2 separate regions of the Homo sapiens genome follow, and region 1 is linked to region 2. Evidence: promoter capture Hi-C in human tissues and cell types (Jung and others, 2019). All regions are on one chromosome and are shown on one strand. Each heading gives the region's core, a stretch centred on a gene start or on the middle of the fragment in contact. The rest is flanking DNA. Distances are from core to core; before and after follow the strand shown. Region 1 has its middle 230 kb from the start of OR4A47. Region 2 holds the start of OR4B1 (olfactory receptor family 4 subfamily B member 1).

The links. The method cuts DNA at HindIII sites, captures the fragments that hold promoters and counts their contacts. A contact is called where the count stands out against the background at its distance.
Region 1: a contact is called between a fragment that was not itself captured here and the fragment with the promoter of OR4B1 in region 2, in 4 of the 25 tissues and cell types used here (H1 embryonic stem cells, aorta, bladder and 1 more).

What each region holds. Positions count from the first base shown.
Region 1 is chr11:48,712,081-48,719,781 of GRCh38, forward strand. No RefSeq gene overlaps it. Among named protein-coding and RNA genes, the nearest start is that of OR4A47, 230 kb to the left of the region's middle. The HindIII fragment of the contact is 3,171 bases long and covers 3,095-6,265 here.
Region 2 is chr11:48,213,968-48,220,627 of GRCh38, forward strand. OR4B1 (olfactory receptor family 4 subfamily B member 1) reads left to right here and starts at 2,843. Exons shown (of 1, transcript NM_001005470.1): 1 at 2,843-3,772. The coding sequence starts at 2,843. The coding sequence ends at 3,772. The HindIII fragment of the contact is 4,187 bases long and covers 558-4,744 here.

The DNA of each region.
Region 1 (7,701 bases), core at 3,430-5,929, 500 kb after region 2:
GAGTTTCCAAACTGCTTAATGAAAAGAAACATTTACCTCTGTGAGATGAATGCACACATCAGAAAGAAGTGTCTCAGAAACCTTCTTTCTAGTTTTTATGTGAAGATGTTTCCTTTTTCATCATAGGCCAAAAAGCACTCCCAAATATCCCTTTGCAGATTCTACAAAAAGACTGTTCCAAACTGCTCAATCAAAAGCGTGGTTCAACTCTGTGAGATGAATACACGCATCACAAAGCAGTTTCACAGACAATTTCTTTCTAGTTTTTATGTGAAGATATATCATTTTTTCACTGTAGGCCTCAAGCGCACACAAATATGCCTTTGCAGATTCTACAAAACGACAGTTTCCAAACTGCTCAATCAAAGCAATGCTTCAACTCTGTGAGATGCATGCACACTTTATGAAGAAGTTTCTCAGAAAGCTTCTGTCCAGTTTTTATATGAAGATATTTCCTATTTCACCATAGGCTTAAAAGTGCTCACAAATATCCCTTTGCAGATACTAGAAGAACAGAGTTTCCAAACTGCTCAATGAACGGAAACTTTTACCTCTGTGAGTTGAATGCACACATTACAAAATAGTTTCTCCAAAAGCTTCTTTCTAGTTTTTATGTGACAATATTTCCTTTTTCACCACTGGCCTCAAAACACTCCCAAATATCCCTTTGCAGATTCTACAAAAAACTGTTTCCAAAATTCTCAATCAAAAGAATGGTTCAACTCTGTGAGATGAATACACACATCACAAAGCAGTTTCACAGACAGCTTCTTTCTAGTTTTTATGTGAAGATATATCAGTTTTTCACCATAGGCCTCAAGCGCACACAAGTATGCCTTTTCAGAGTCTACAAAATGACAGTTCCCAAACTGCTCAATCAAAACAATGCTTCAACTCTGTGAGATGCATGCACACATTATGAAGAAGTTTCTCAGAAAGCTTCTGTCCAGTTTTTATATGAAGATATTTCCTATTTCACCATAGGCCTAAAAGTGCTCAGAAATATCCCTTTGCAGATACTGGAAGAACAGAGTTTCCAAACTGCTCAACGAACAGAAACTTTTACCTCTTTGAGATGAATATACACATTACAAAGCAGTTTCTCAGAAAGCTTCTTTCTAGTTTTTATGTGAAGATATTTCCTTTTTTACCACCGGCCTCAAAGCACTCCCAAATATCCCTTTGCAGATTCTACAAAAATACTGTTTTGAAACTGCTCAATCAAATGAATGGTTCAACTCTGTTAGTTGAATGCACACATCACAGCGAAGTTTCTCAGAAAGCGTCTGTCTTGTTTTTAAATGAAGATATTTCCTTTTTAACCAAAGGTCTCAAATTGCTCACAAATATCCCTTTGCAGATTCTGGAAGAATAGAGTTTCCAAACAGCTCAATGACAAGAAACATTTACCACTGTGAGTTGAATGCACACATCACAAAGAAGTTTCTCAGAAAGCTTCTGTCTAGTTTTTATGTGAACATATTTTGTTTTCACCATATGCCTAAAAGCGCATGAAAATATCCCTTTGCAGATTCTACACAAAGGTAGTTTCCAAACAGCTCAAACAAAAGAAAGCTTCAACTCTGTGTAGTGAGTGCACACCTCACAAAGAAGTTTCTCAGAAACCTTCTGTCTAGTTTGTAAGTGAAGATATTTCCTTTTTCATCGTAGGACTCATTACGATCCCAAATATCCCTTTGCTGATTCTATGAAAAGACGGTTGTCAAACTGCTCAATGAAAACAATGTTTCTACCCTGTGATATGTATGCACACATCACAAATAAGTTTCTCAGGAAGCTTCTGTCTAGTTTTCGTATGAACATATTTCTTTTTTCACCATAGGTCTCAAAATGCTCCGTAATATACTTTAGCCGGTTCTAAAAAGGAGTGGTTCCAGACTGCTCAATGAAAAGAATGGCTCAACTCTGTGAAATGAATGCACACATCACAAAGCAGTTTCTCAGAAAGCTTCTCTTTAGTTTTTGTGAAGATATTTCCTTTTTGACCATAGGCCTCAAAGCACTCAGAAATGTCCCTCTGCAGATTCTACAAAAAGATGGATTCCAAACGGCTTAATCAAAAGAATGGTTCAACTCTGTGAGGAGAATGTACACATCACAAAGTGGTTCCTCACAAAACTTCTTTCTAGTTTTTATGTGAAGATATTTACTTTTTCTCCACTGGCCTTTAACCTCTCCCCAAATTCCTTTTGCTGATTCTACGAAAAGACTGTTTCCAAACTGCTCAATCAAAAGAATGGTTCAACTCTGTGAGATGAATGCACACATCACAAAGAAGTTTCTCAGAAATCTTCTGCCTACTTTTTGTGTGAAGATATTTCCTTTTTCAGCATAGGCATCAAAGCGCTCATAATATCCCTTTGCAGATCCCACAAAAAGACTGTTTCCAAACTGCTCAATCAAAAGAATGGTTCAACTCTGTGAGATGAATGCACACATCACAAAGAAGTTTCTCAGAAATCTTCTGCCTACTTTTTGTGTGAAGATATTTCCTTTTTCAGCATAGGCATCAAAGCGCTCATAATATCCTTTTGCAGATCCCACAAAAAGACTGTTTCCAAACTGCTCAATCAAAAGAATTTTTCACCTCTGTGAGATGAATGCACACATTATATAGAGGTTTCTGAGAAAGCTTTTGTCTAGTTTTTATGTAAAGATATTTACTTCTTCACCAATGACCTCAAAGTGCTCACAATATCCCTTTGCAGATTCTAGAAGAACAGAGTTTCCAAACTGCTCAATGATAAGAAACATTTACCTCTGTGAGACGAATGCAAAACTCACAAAGGAGTTTCCCAGAAATCTTTTTTTATGTGAAGATATTTCCTTTATCACCATCAGCCTAGAAACACTCACAAACGTCCCTTTGCAGAATCTCCAAGAACAGAGTTTCCAAACTACTCAATAAAAAGAAACGCTTACCTCTGTGAGATGAATGCACCCATCACAAAGCAGTTTCTCAGAAAGCTTCTGTCTAGTTTTTATGTGAAGATAGTTCAGTTTTCACCATAGGCCTCATAGAGCCCCCAAATATCCCTTTGCAGATTCTATAAAAATACTTGCCAAAAGTCTCAATAAAAAGAATGGTTCAACTTTATGAGATGAATGCACACATCACAAAGATGTTTTCAGAAAGTTTTGTTTAGATTTTAGCTGAAGATATTTCTTTTTCACCATAAGCTTCAGAGCCCTCACAAATATCCCTTTGCAGATTGTACAAGGACAGAATATCCAAACTGCTCAATGAAAAGAAATGTTTACATCTGTGAGATGAATGCACACATCACAAATCAGATTCTCAGAAAGCTTCTTTCTAGTTTTTATTTGAAGATATTTCCTTTTTCACCATAGGCCTCAAAGCCCTACAAAATATCCCTCTGCAGATTCTAACAAAACACTGTTTCCAAACTGCTCAATCAAAAGAATGGTTGAACTCTATGACATGAATGCACACATCACAAACAAGTTTCTCAGAAAACTTCCATCTAATTTTTATGTGAAGATATTTCCTTTTACACCTTAGGCCTCAAAATGCTCACAAATATACATTTGCAAATTCCACAAAAAGGCATTTTCCAAACTGCTCAATCAAAAAAATTTTTCAGCTCTTTGAGATGAATGCACACATCACAAAGAAGTTTCTCAGAAAGATTGTCTAGATATTTCCTTTTTCAACATAGGCCTCAAAGCACTCACTAATATCCCTTTGAAGATTCTAGAAGAACAGAGTTTCCAAAGTGTTGAATGAGAAGAAACTTTTACCTCTGTGAGATGAATGCACAAATGACAGAGCACTTTCTCAGAAAGCTTCTTTGGAGTCTTTATGGGAAGATATTTCCATTTTCACCATAGGACACAAAGCCCTCACAAGCAAGCCTCCTTTTGCAGTTTCTAAAAAAAAACTGTTTCTAAACTGCTCAATGAAAAGGATGGTTTGACGCTGTGAGATGAATGCAAACATCATAAAGAAGTTTCTCATCAAGCCTCTATCTAGTTTCTATGTGAAGATATTTCCTTTTTCACCATAGACCACTGAGCACTCCCAAATATCCCTTTGTAGATTCTACAAAAAGACTGTATCAAAATTGCTCAATCAAAAGAGTGGTTCAACTCTGTGAGATGAATGTATATATCACAAAGACGTTTCTCAGAAACCTTCTGTCTAGTTTTTATGTGAAGATATTTCCTTTTTCACCATAGGCCTCAAAGGACTCACAAACAAACGTTTGTAGATTCTACAAGAACAGAGTTTCCAAACTACTCAATGAAAAGAAATTTACCACTGTGAGATGAATGCACACATCATAAATCAGTTTCTCAGAAAGGTTATTTCCATTTTTTAAGTGAAGACTTTCCCTTTTCACCATAGGCCTCAAAGCATTCCCAAATACCCCTTTGCAGATTTCACAGAAAGAGTGTTGCAAAACTGCTCAATCAAAAGAAAGGTTCAACTCTGTGAGATGAATGCACACATCACAAAGAAGTTTCTCAGAATGCTTCTGTCTAGTTTTTATGTGAAGATATTTCCTTTTCCACCATAGGCCTCAAAGCATTCCCAAATATCCCTTTGCAGATTTCACAAAACGACTGTTTCCAAACTTCTCAATCAAAAGAAAGTTCTACTCTGTCAGATGAAAGCACACAACACAAAGAAGTTTCTCAGAAAGCTTCTGTCTACTTTTTATGTGAAGATATTTCCTTTTTCACCATAGGCCTTAAAGTGCTCCCAGTTATCACTTTGCAGATTCTACAAAAAGACTGTTTACAATCTGCTCATTCAAAAGAATGGTTCAGCACTGTGAGATGAATGCACATATCACAAAGAAGTTTCTCAGAAAGCTTCTGTCTAGTTTTTATGTGAAGATATTTCCCTTTTCACTGTAAACCTCAAAGCACTCACAAATATCCCTTTGCAGATTCTACAAAAAGACTCTTTCTAAACTGCTAAATCAAGAGAATCATTCAACTCTGTGAAATGAATGCACACATCACAAAGAAGTTTCTCAGAAAGTCTGTCTAGTTTTTATGTGAAGTTATTTCCTTTTTCACCTTTGGTCTCAAAGCACTCACAAATATCCATTTGCAGCTTCTAGAAGGACAGAGTTTCCAAACTGCTCAATGAAAAGTAACGTTTACTTCTATGAGATGAATGGACACATCACAAAACAATTTCTCAGAAAGCTTTTATCTAGTTTTTATGTGAAGATATTTCCGTTTTCACCATAGACCTCAAAGTGCTTCCCAATATCCCTTTACAGGTTTTAGGAGGACAAAGTTTCCAAAGTGCTCATGAAATCATGTGTTTACTTCTGTGCCATGAATGGACACACCACAAAGCAGTTTCTCAGAAAGCTTCCTTCTAGTTTTTATGTGAAGATGTTTCCTTTTTCACCACAAGTTTCAAAGCAATTTTTGTGAGCACTTTTAGGCCTACAGTGATTAAGGATAGATCCTCATAGAAAAACTAGACACAAGGTTTCTGAGAAACTTCTTTGTGATGTGTGTGTTCTTCTCACAGGCTTGAACCGTTCTTTTGATTGAGCAGTTCCTAAACAGTCTTTTTGTAGAGTCTGCTAAGAGATATTGGGGAGTGCTTGGAGGCCTAAGGTGAAAAAGTAAGTATCTTCACATTAAAAGTAGAAAGAAGCTTTCTGAGAAACTGCTTCATGATGTGTCCATTCATCTCACAGAGGTAAACATTAGTTTTCAGTGAGCAGTTTGGAAACTATGTTCCTCTAGGATCTGCAAAGGGATATTTGTGAGCACTTTGAGGTCTATGGTGAAAGAGGAAATATCTTCACATAAAATCTAGACAGAAGCTTTCTGAGAAACTTTGTGATGTGTGCATTCATGTCACAGAGTTGAACAATCACTTTGATTGAGCAATTTGGAAACCATCTTTTGGTAGAATCTGCAAAGGCATATTTGTGAGCACTTTGAGTCCTATGGTGAAAAAGGAAATATCTTCACATAAAAACTAGAAAGAAGGTTGCTGAGATACTGCTTTGCGTGTTTGCATTCATCTCACAGAGATATACTTTTTTTTCATTGAGCAGTTTGGAAAATCTGTTCTTGTAGAATGTGCAAAGGGATATTTCTGAGTGCTTTAATGCCTATGGTGAAAAAGGAAATATCTTCACATAAAAACCAGGCAGAAGCTTTCTGAGAGACTGGTTTGTGATGTGTGCATTCATCTAACAGAGTTAAATGTTTCTTTTCATTAAGCACTTTGGAAACTCTGTTCTTCCAGTATCTGCAAAGAGATATTTGTGAGCGCTTTGATGCCTATGGTGAAAAAGGAAATATCTTCACATAAAAATTACACAGAAGCTTTCTGAGAAAGTTCTTTGTGATGTATGCATTCATCTCACAGTGTTGAAACATTCTTTCAATTGAGCACTTTGGAAGGCGTCTTTTTGTAGAATCTGCAAAGGGATATTTTTGAGTCATTTGAGGCTTATGCTGAAAAAGGAAATATCTCCACATAAAAACTAGCCAGAAGTTTTCTGAGAAACTGCTTTGTAATGTGTGCCTTCATGTCACAGAGTGGAATGATTATTTTGATTGAGCAGTGTGGAAACATTCTTTTTGTAGAATCTGCAAAGGGATATTTGTGATCGCTTTGAGGCCTATGGTGAAAAATGAAATATCTTCACATAAAAACTAGACAGAATGTTTCTGAAAAACTGCTTTCTAATGTGTGCCTTAATTTCACAGATTTGAACCATTATTTTGATTGAGCAGTTTGGAAACAATCTTTTTGTAGTATCTGCAAAGGGATATTTGTAAACGCTTTGAGGCCTATGGAGAAAATGGAAATATCTTCACATAAAAACTAGACAGATTCTTTCTGAGAAACTGCTTTGTGATGTGTGCATTCATCTCACAGATTTGAACCTTTCTTTTGATTGAGCAGTTTGGAAACAGTCTTTTTGTAGAATGTCCTAGGGGATATTTGTGAGCCCTTTGAGGCTTATGGTGAAAAAGGTATTATCTCCACATAAAAACTAGACAGAAGCTTTCTCAAAACTGCTTTGTGGTCTGTGCATTCATCTGACAGTGTTGAACCATTCTTTTGATTGTGCAGTTTGGGAACTCTGTTCTTGTAGAACCTGCAAACAAATATTTGTGAGCACTTGGAGGCCCATGGTGAAAAAGGAAATATCTTCATGTAAAAACTAGGCAGAAGCTGTCTGAGAAACTACTTTGTAATGTGTGCATTCATCACAGAGAGTTGAAACATTCTTTTAATTGAACAGTTTGGAAACACTGTTTTTGTAGAACCTGCAAAGGTATATTTGTAAGCACTTTGAGGCCTATGGTGAAAAATAAAATGTCTTCACATAAAAACTAGAAAGAAGGTTTCTGAGAAACTACTTGGTGATGAGGGCATTCATCTCACAGAGTTGAACCATTCTTCTGATTCAGCAGTTTGAAAACAGTCTTTTTGTAGGATCTGCAAAGGGATATTTTTGGACGCTTAGTGGCCTATGGAGAAAATGGAAGTATCTTCACATCAATCCGAGAAAGAAGCTTTCTGAGAAACTGCTTTTTGATGTGTGCATTCAACTCACAGAGTTGAATTCTTCGTTTGATAGAACAGTTTGGAAACAGTCTTCTTGCAGAACCTGCAAAGGGATATTTGTGAGCACTTTGAGTCGCATGGTGAAAAAGGATTTA
Region 2 (6,660 bases), core at 1,593-4,092:
ATGAGAAGGTGAGGAGACCTCTGAATAGAACTGAGATTGTGTGCGGTTTAGTGCCCCGTAAAGTGGGTTCGAAGGGGCCTGTGGAGGTCCTGTAGAGGTTTCTAAAAGTCAGATGGAAGAATTTAGGATGGATTACCAGCCAACAGGGAGACAATGGCAATTTCTGAATGACTTGGAACTGAGGGAAGAGGAAGAATTTCTAACGTGAGTATGTAGAATAGACTGGGGATGAAGACTGGGGATGTCTGGGGACAGATGAAGTATGTAGGTGTCTGCAGTCATCCTCATGTGAGTTTATGTCCTACTTGAAGATGGCAGCTGCAGGAAGACAGAGGAGGAAACTGGTGAAATCAACAGGACATAAAGATTGTGTAAATATGACAGGTGGAGGAGGCATGAATTAGATGTGACTCCATGGTTTCAATCCTGAGGGACAGGGAAAATGATGGTGCTGCTATAAGGCCCAGTGTGAGAGGGGTTTCTTCAGCTCACCTGCGCTGGAAGAGAATGACAGATTCCATAGCTTGGTCTCACCAGCTGCAGTTCTGCCTCCCACCAAAATCCTTGCCTTTGGGTAAAGTAGGAGAGGGGAATCCCTGAGTCTCACACTCTGCGCAGGATCCTACATGGTTTCTTGGTCTTGCATGATCCAGAAATGGTGGAAATGGAACATTCCCAATAATGTAGAGTTTCTAATGATGCTCCTGCTATTCACAGGGTGGGATTAGTAAATGAATTTGGCCAAGTTTTGTATTGACCATAGGTCTTGATGCTATTTCTCCAAGGCCCTGGGGTGGCTAACCCCTTTCTCCTCCAGCTGAGGTGTGGTGGCTCTCCACTACCCTTATTTACATAGGCTCGGTTTCAGCTATGGCTCAAACACTCGCAAGCTATGTTTCTTTGGACAAGTTACTAAACTTCTGTAAGCCTCATTTCTCTCATCTAATAATTAGCTACCTCAAAGAGGTACAGGAAGAATTAAATGAGGGGATGACTGTAAGATGCTTATCACAGTCTAGCACACAGTAGACCCGGAATACACAGCAGCAGCATCTGCAGTTGTTGTGGTTGTTAGGAAGACAATGACAATGAAGATGGTAAACATCTGGTAACCACCATGTTCACCATCTTCATCATCATCCTAACAACCACATGATGGCAAACATGAGCTAACAAGATGCTCTAGTTCCTCCAGGCCACCAGACCCCTTGGCAGCCTTCTTGTGTTGTTTTTGAAGCTTCCCTTATTTCTATTCCTCTACACCGGTAAGAGAGTCCCATCTTGCTTTCTCTTTCCCTTTCAGTTGTTTTCTTGGGTACCTCTTTTTTTTTTCTTCACCAATTAATACTCCACTTCATCTCCAGTTTTAGCCAAGCTCCTTACTGAGCATCTTTCAGCAGATTTTTACCTTGTGTTTCTCTTCAAATTTTCACTATGAGAGAAATTGGGGAGGAAAAAGTATTGAATATTTTCAAATGGAAGCACAAGTGGAAGAAGGAAAAGTAAGGTGAATAAGAGATACTTCAAAATAATTTTATTTTATTTAATATTTTTTGAGACGGAGTTTTGCTCTTGTCACCCAGGCTGGAGTGCAATGGTGAGATCTTGGCTCACTGCAACCTCCACCTCCCGGGTTCAAGTGATTATCCTGTCTCAGCCTCCTGAGTAGGTGGGATTACAGGTGCCCACCAGCATGCCCGGTTAATTTTTGTATTTTTAGTAGAGATGGGGTTTCACCATGTTGGCCAGGCCGATCTTGAACTCCTGACCTCAGTTGATCCACCCACCTCGGCCTCCTAAAGTGCTGGGATTACAGGCCTGAGCCACTGCTCCCGGCCCGAGATACTTCAACATAGTTTTGAAAGCAGAGAAAATCTTGAAGTTTTTCTCTCCTTCTTTTCATAAATGTGTTGTTTAATCATTTGAAGTTACAAGCCTCTTCAGGCTAGAACCATGTTCCATTCTCCTTTCCTATGTCCTGAGTTGCCTAGGCCTGTGGTAGGTACTTAATAAAATCTTTGGTTTAAAGAGTTATTTTAAAAGAAATCCTGCACCTTCTGCTGACAAAAATGTTTGCTAATGGCAAGCAAACTGGAAGACAGAAACAAGCAAAGTGGTGTTGTCCATATGTTATATTCAAACTATTGTTTGATAGGGAGCTATTCTCCAAACAACTTCTGGATGTTCACTTAGCTCTCAGCTGCCAACATTTTCTCAAAATGGTTGTAAAATTCATGAAGCTATAGGACTGGGCAAAAACCATAGGGTCTGAAAGAATTCAGAAACTTACATAGTTCATGTAATGAAAACATCAAAGATATTCCCTAAAATGGAGATGTTTCACTTAGATTGGCATTTCTGGGGAGTAAATAAATGGAGGAAACAAAAGAGTCAGGAGCAGAAGGTCACTATACAATCTCTAACACAAAGACATGACCAGAGAAAATGGAGAATAGGAGAAATGTTAGTAATTAATATAAATGGTTTTCATGCTGAAAGCGGTAATTTTTTTTACTTAAAGTAATGTATGAGTTGGAATAATATGACCTGGGAGGCTTGGCTAATTCACAAATTCTCTGAGCCTCAGTTTTCTTACTTGTTATATGGGGATCATAGAGTTTTTGTGGGGCTGCTTGACCAGTGTCTTGCATAGGGTAGGCTATTGAGCACCAAATGAATAAACATTGACTATATAAATAAATAAACAAATGAGTCAGAAAATATGCATAAAAGGGTTTTATTAACAAGCAAGTGCTAAATAAACATGAAGGATTAGCGTTATGATTGCATGTGCTTTGTCACAGGGCTCTTCTCTGAGATCTGTCTTCTCTGAGTGGAATCCATGGCCAGTACAAGTAATGTGACTGAGTTGATTTTCACTGGCCTTTTCCAGGATCCAGCTGTGCAGAGTGTATGCTTTGTGGTGTTTCTCCCCGTGTACCTTGCCACGGTGGTGGGCAATGGCCTCATCGTTCTGACGGTCAGTATCAGCAAGAGTCTGGATTCTCCCATGTACTTCTTCCTTAGCTGCCTGTCCTTGGTGGAGATCAGTTATTCCTCCACTATCGCCCCTAAATTCATCATAGACTTACTTGCCAAGATTAAAACCATCTCTCTGGAAGGCTGTCTGACTCAGATATTCTTCTTCCACTTCTTTGGGGTTGCTGAGATCCTTTTGATTGTGGTGATGGCCTATGATTGCTACGTGGCCATTTGCAAGCCTCTTCATTATATGAACATTATCAGTCGTCAACTGTGTCACCTTCTGGTGGCTGGTTCCTGGCTGGGGGGCTTTTGTCACTCCATAATTCAGATTCTCGTTATCATCCAATTGCCCTTCTGTGGTCCCAATGTGATTGACCACTATTTCTGTGACCTCCAGCCTTTATTCAAGCTTGCCTGCACTGACACCTTCATGGAGGGGGTTATTGTGTTGGCCAACAGTGGATTATTCTCTGTCTTCTCCTTCCTCATCTTGGTGTCCTCTTATATTGTCATTCTGGTCAACTTGAGGAACCATTCTGCAGAGGGGAGGCACAAAGCCCTCTCCACCTGTGCTTCTCACATCACAGTGGTCATCTTGTTTTTTGGACCTGCTATCTTCCTCTACATGCGACCTTCTTCCACTTTCACTGAAGATAAACTTGTGGCTGTATTCTACACGGTCATCACCCCCATGCTGAACCCCATCATTTACACACTCAGGAATGCAGAGGTGAAAATCGCCATAAGAAGATTGTGGAGCAAAAAGGAGAATCCAGGGAGGGAGTGAAAAAAGAGCTTAGGGATGAAAAAGTGATACAAAATGTATGTCTGATTACTCTCTGTTCTTGAAATGGATTTTGATTTTAGTGGGATATTCAAGAATGACAGAAACAAATATAAAGGCTTAATGATACTGCTGCTGTGATTCTGCTTAGTAGCCAAAGACACTTGGTATGCTGGTGTAATGTTTGAAGGACAGAGGTCAGATAGTCTCGCAGAGTCTTAGAGAACTTGATTGGCTTCATGATATCCAACAATATCATGGGCTTGGGTAATATGAAGCCTCAAACCAAGTGCAAATGCAAAGGAGAACATGTTGATAAATGTTTTTTAGATTAAGTCACTTCTTCCTGTTACCTCCTCCCTTCCTCACTTCTTTTCTTTCTCCCTTTTGCTCTTCCTCCTTCCTCCCTCCCTTCCTTCTTTTCTTCCTTCATTCTTTCTCCCCTCTTTGTTCAAACTCCCTCATGATAACAAACTCTATTTCATTAAAAAAGGAAACCAACCAGAGGAATTATCAGGGAATATTTAGGAAGGAGGGCACCAATCTGATCTACAATGTTGACAAGTATGTCTTTGAAAATTACATCCAGGGACTTTTCTTTTCTTCTGGTTGGCTCCTGGTATCTTGTACCATGGACCATCTGACCATAAGCCCCAGAAAAGTCCCTGGAGCATTTTTAGTTCTTGTGATATGTTTTCACAAGAGATGGTCCTTAAATCTGTCTGGTCTTTCTCACAATGTCCAACATTTGTAAAAAAATAATATCAAAATGACATAGATTCTACTTATCACTATGGAAAGATCAAGTCAAATATTTTCACAAATACAGTGTTTCACAAAAACATTGTTAGTCTTATCCAGATGTGAAAAATACAAAATGTTAGAAAATGCTTATTAGGCCTAACTTAAAGAATGAAGGGGAGAGTGATACTGTCCAAGCATACTTCTACTCCAGACCCTGTCCCTTGTTCTAAGTGACCATGCAAGGCCATTTCTTTTAATGCCTATTAGTATTTCTTGGTGAAGGGAGATGAGATCGTCTGTGTCTGCACTTTTGGTTAACTTCTCAGCATCTCTGCCTTACCCCATTGTTTCATATAATTGTACATAATTTATAGAATATCATAAAGTTGTTCCCTGTTGGCTTTAAAATTGCACATATTGGCATTGAATTTGCACAACATCCTCTGCTTTTTCTTGAGAATCAGGTGAAATAATTCATGCAGCTTCCCTAGCAGAGGGATGGAGTATCATGGGTGTGCTATATATCTTAGGGCTTTTTCCTTTCTATTATAGGTGCTGGTTGAACACGTAGGTAAATAGTGGTTTTAAAGGCACCAGCAAACTTCTCACTTCCCTTAGTGTTCCCATTAACCCTGTCCATAGACGACCATCATTAATCCCTGAGAAAATGTTGCTGCTTCTGCTTGGAATGACTTTACTTCCCTTTTCTGTATGGCAAAATCCTATACATTCTTCAAGACCTAGGTTCAAGTCATCTTCCTTATAAGACCTTCTCTGACTTCCCTCCTCTTTGGGTTGAATTTATGTCTCCTTTCTGCAGTCATTTTTACATATTATTGCCCTATCACTTCAATTCTGATTATTTGATGTGTTTGTCTCTCAATAGACTGTAAGCTCTCAAGGGCAGGACTGTCCACTGTCCCTTCTTCTTTGCAGCTCTAAATATCATGCACATAGTTGATACTTCTTAAGTGCATGTGGAATAACCAACCCTTTAGGCTCATGCACAATCCTTGCTATATTAATTCTTATAGGTTCCTTTTGAACACTTTCATGGTGAGGAGCACATCTTCCTGTTGAAATTTTAAGAGCTCAGGCTCTGACATTTGTTAGGCTGTTCCAATTGCCTGTGAGCCACAACCCAGGATCCAAAGTACTTAACTTCCCTGAACAACTGTTTATGCATGAGTATAATGACTAACAATACTATGAAGTTTATAAGATTATTCTGGCTGGGTGTGGTGGCTCACGCCTGTAATCACAGTGCTTTGGGAGGCTGAGGCAGGTGGATCACTTGAGGTCAGGAGTTTGAGACCAGCCTGGACAACATGGAGAAACGCTGTCTGTACTAAAAATTAGCCAGGTATGGTGGCACGTACGTGTAATCCCAGCTACTCGGGAGGCTACGGCAAGAGAATCACTTGAACCTGGGAAGCGGAGGTTGCAGTGAGCCAACATAGCACCACTGCACTCCAGCTTGGGTAACAGAGTGAGACTTAGCCTCAAAAAAAAAAAAAAAAAAGAAAGAAAGAAAAAAAAGGGATTATTCTGAATATTAAATCAGATAATATACCTGCAAAGCTTTTAGAACAGAACATGGTCATCAATAAATATTAGCCATCATCATCTTCATCATTAGAACTGATTATTAATTTTATTTTGTGTGATGACTGCATCTCACAATGATCATTCTGTCCTGTAGAGCTACTCAGAATAGGCCTTGATTCCACCCCAAAAGTGTTCAAGCATTCTAAGGCAGTTCAATAGACCTTCTCTGTCGCATGCCACGTTGCTTCTCTGAACGTAAACATTCTCTGTTAGGCCATCTACCTGGTGCATCATAGGTACTCACTTAGTATTTGTTAAATAGATGTTGACTGTAAAATAGCTTCCCTATAATCTTTTATGCTAATGCTTTTATATCTTGTTAATGTATATTTTAAAGCATTTGCTCCAGAATGAAACACAGTGAAGGCACCCTTCCTTTCTCTTGATATCTTGCTTGTATTAAAGCAGGCTAGGACTTTAGGTTGCAGGTTGTGGTAGGAGTCCCTTACTCATGGGCAGGTTTGGTTTCCTCTCTGAGAACTATGGATAGAACACCATCAGTGAACTCTGAGTGGTTGGATACTGCACAGGCAGATAAT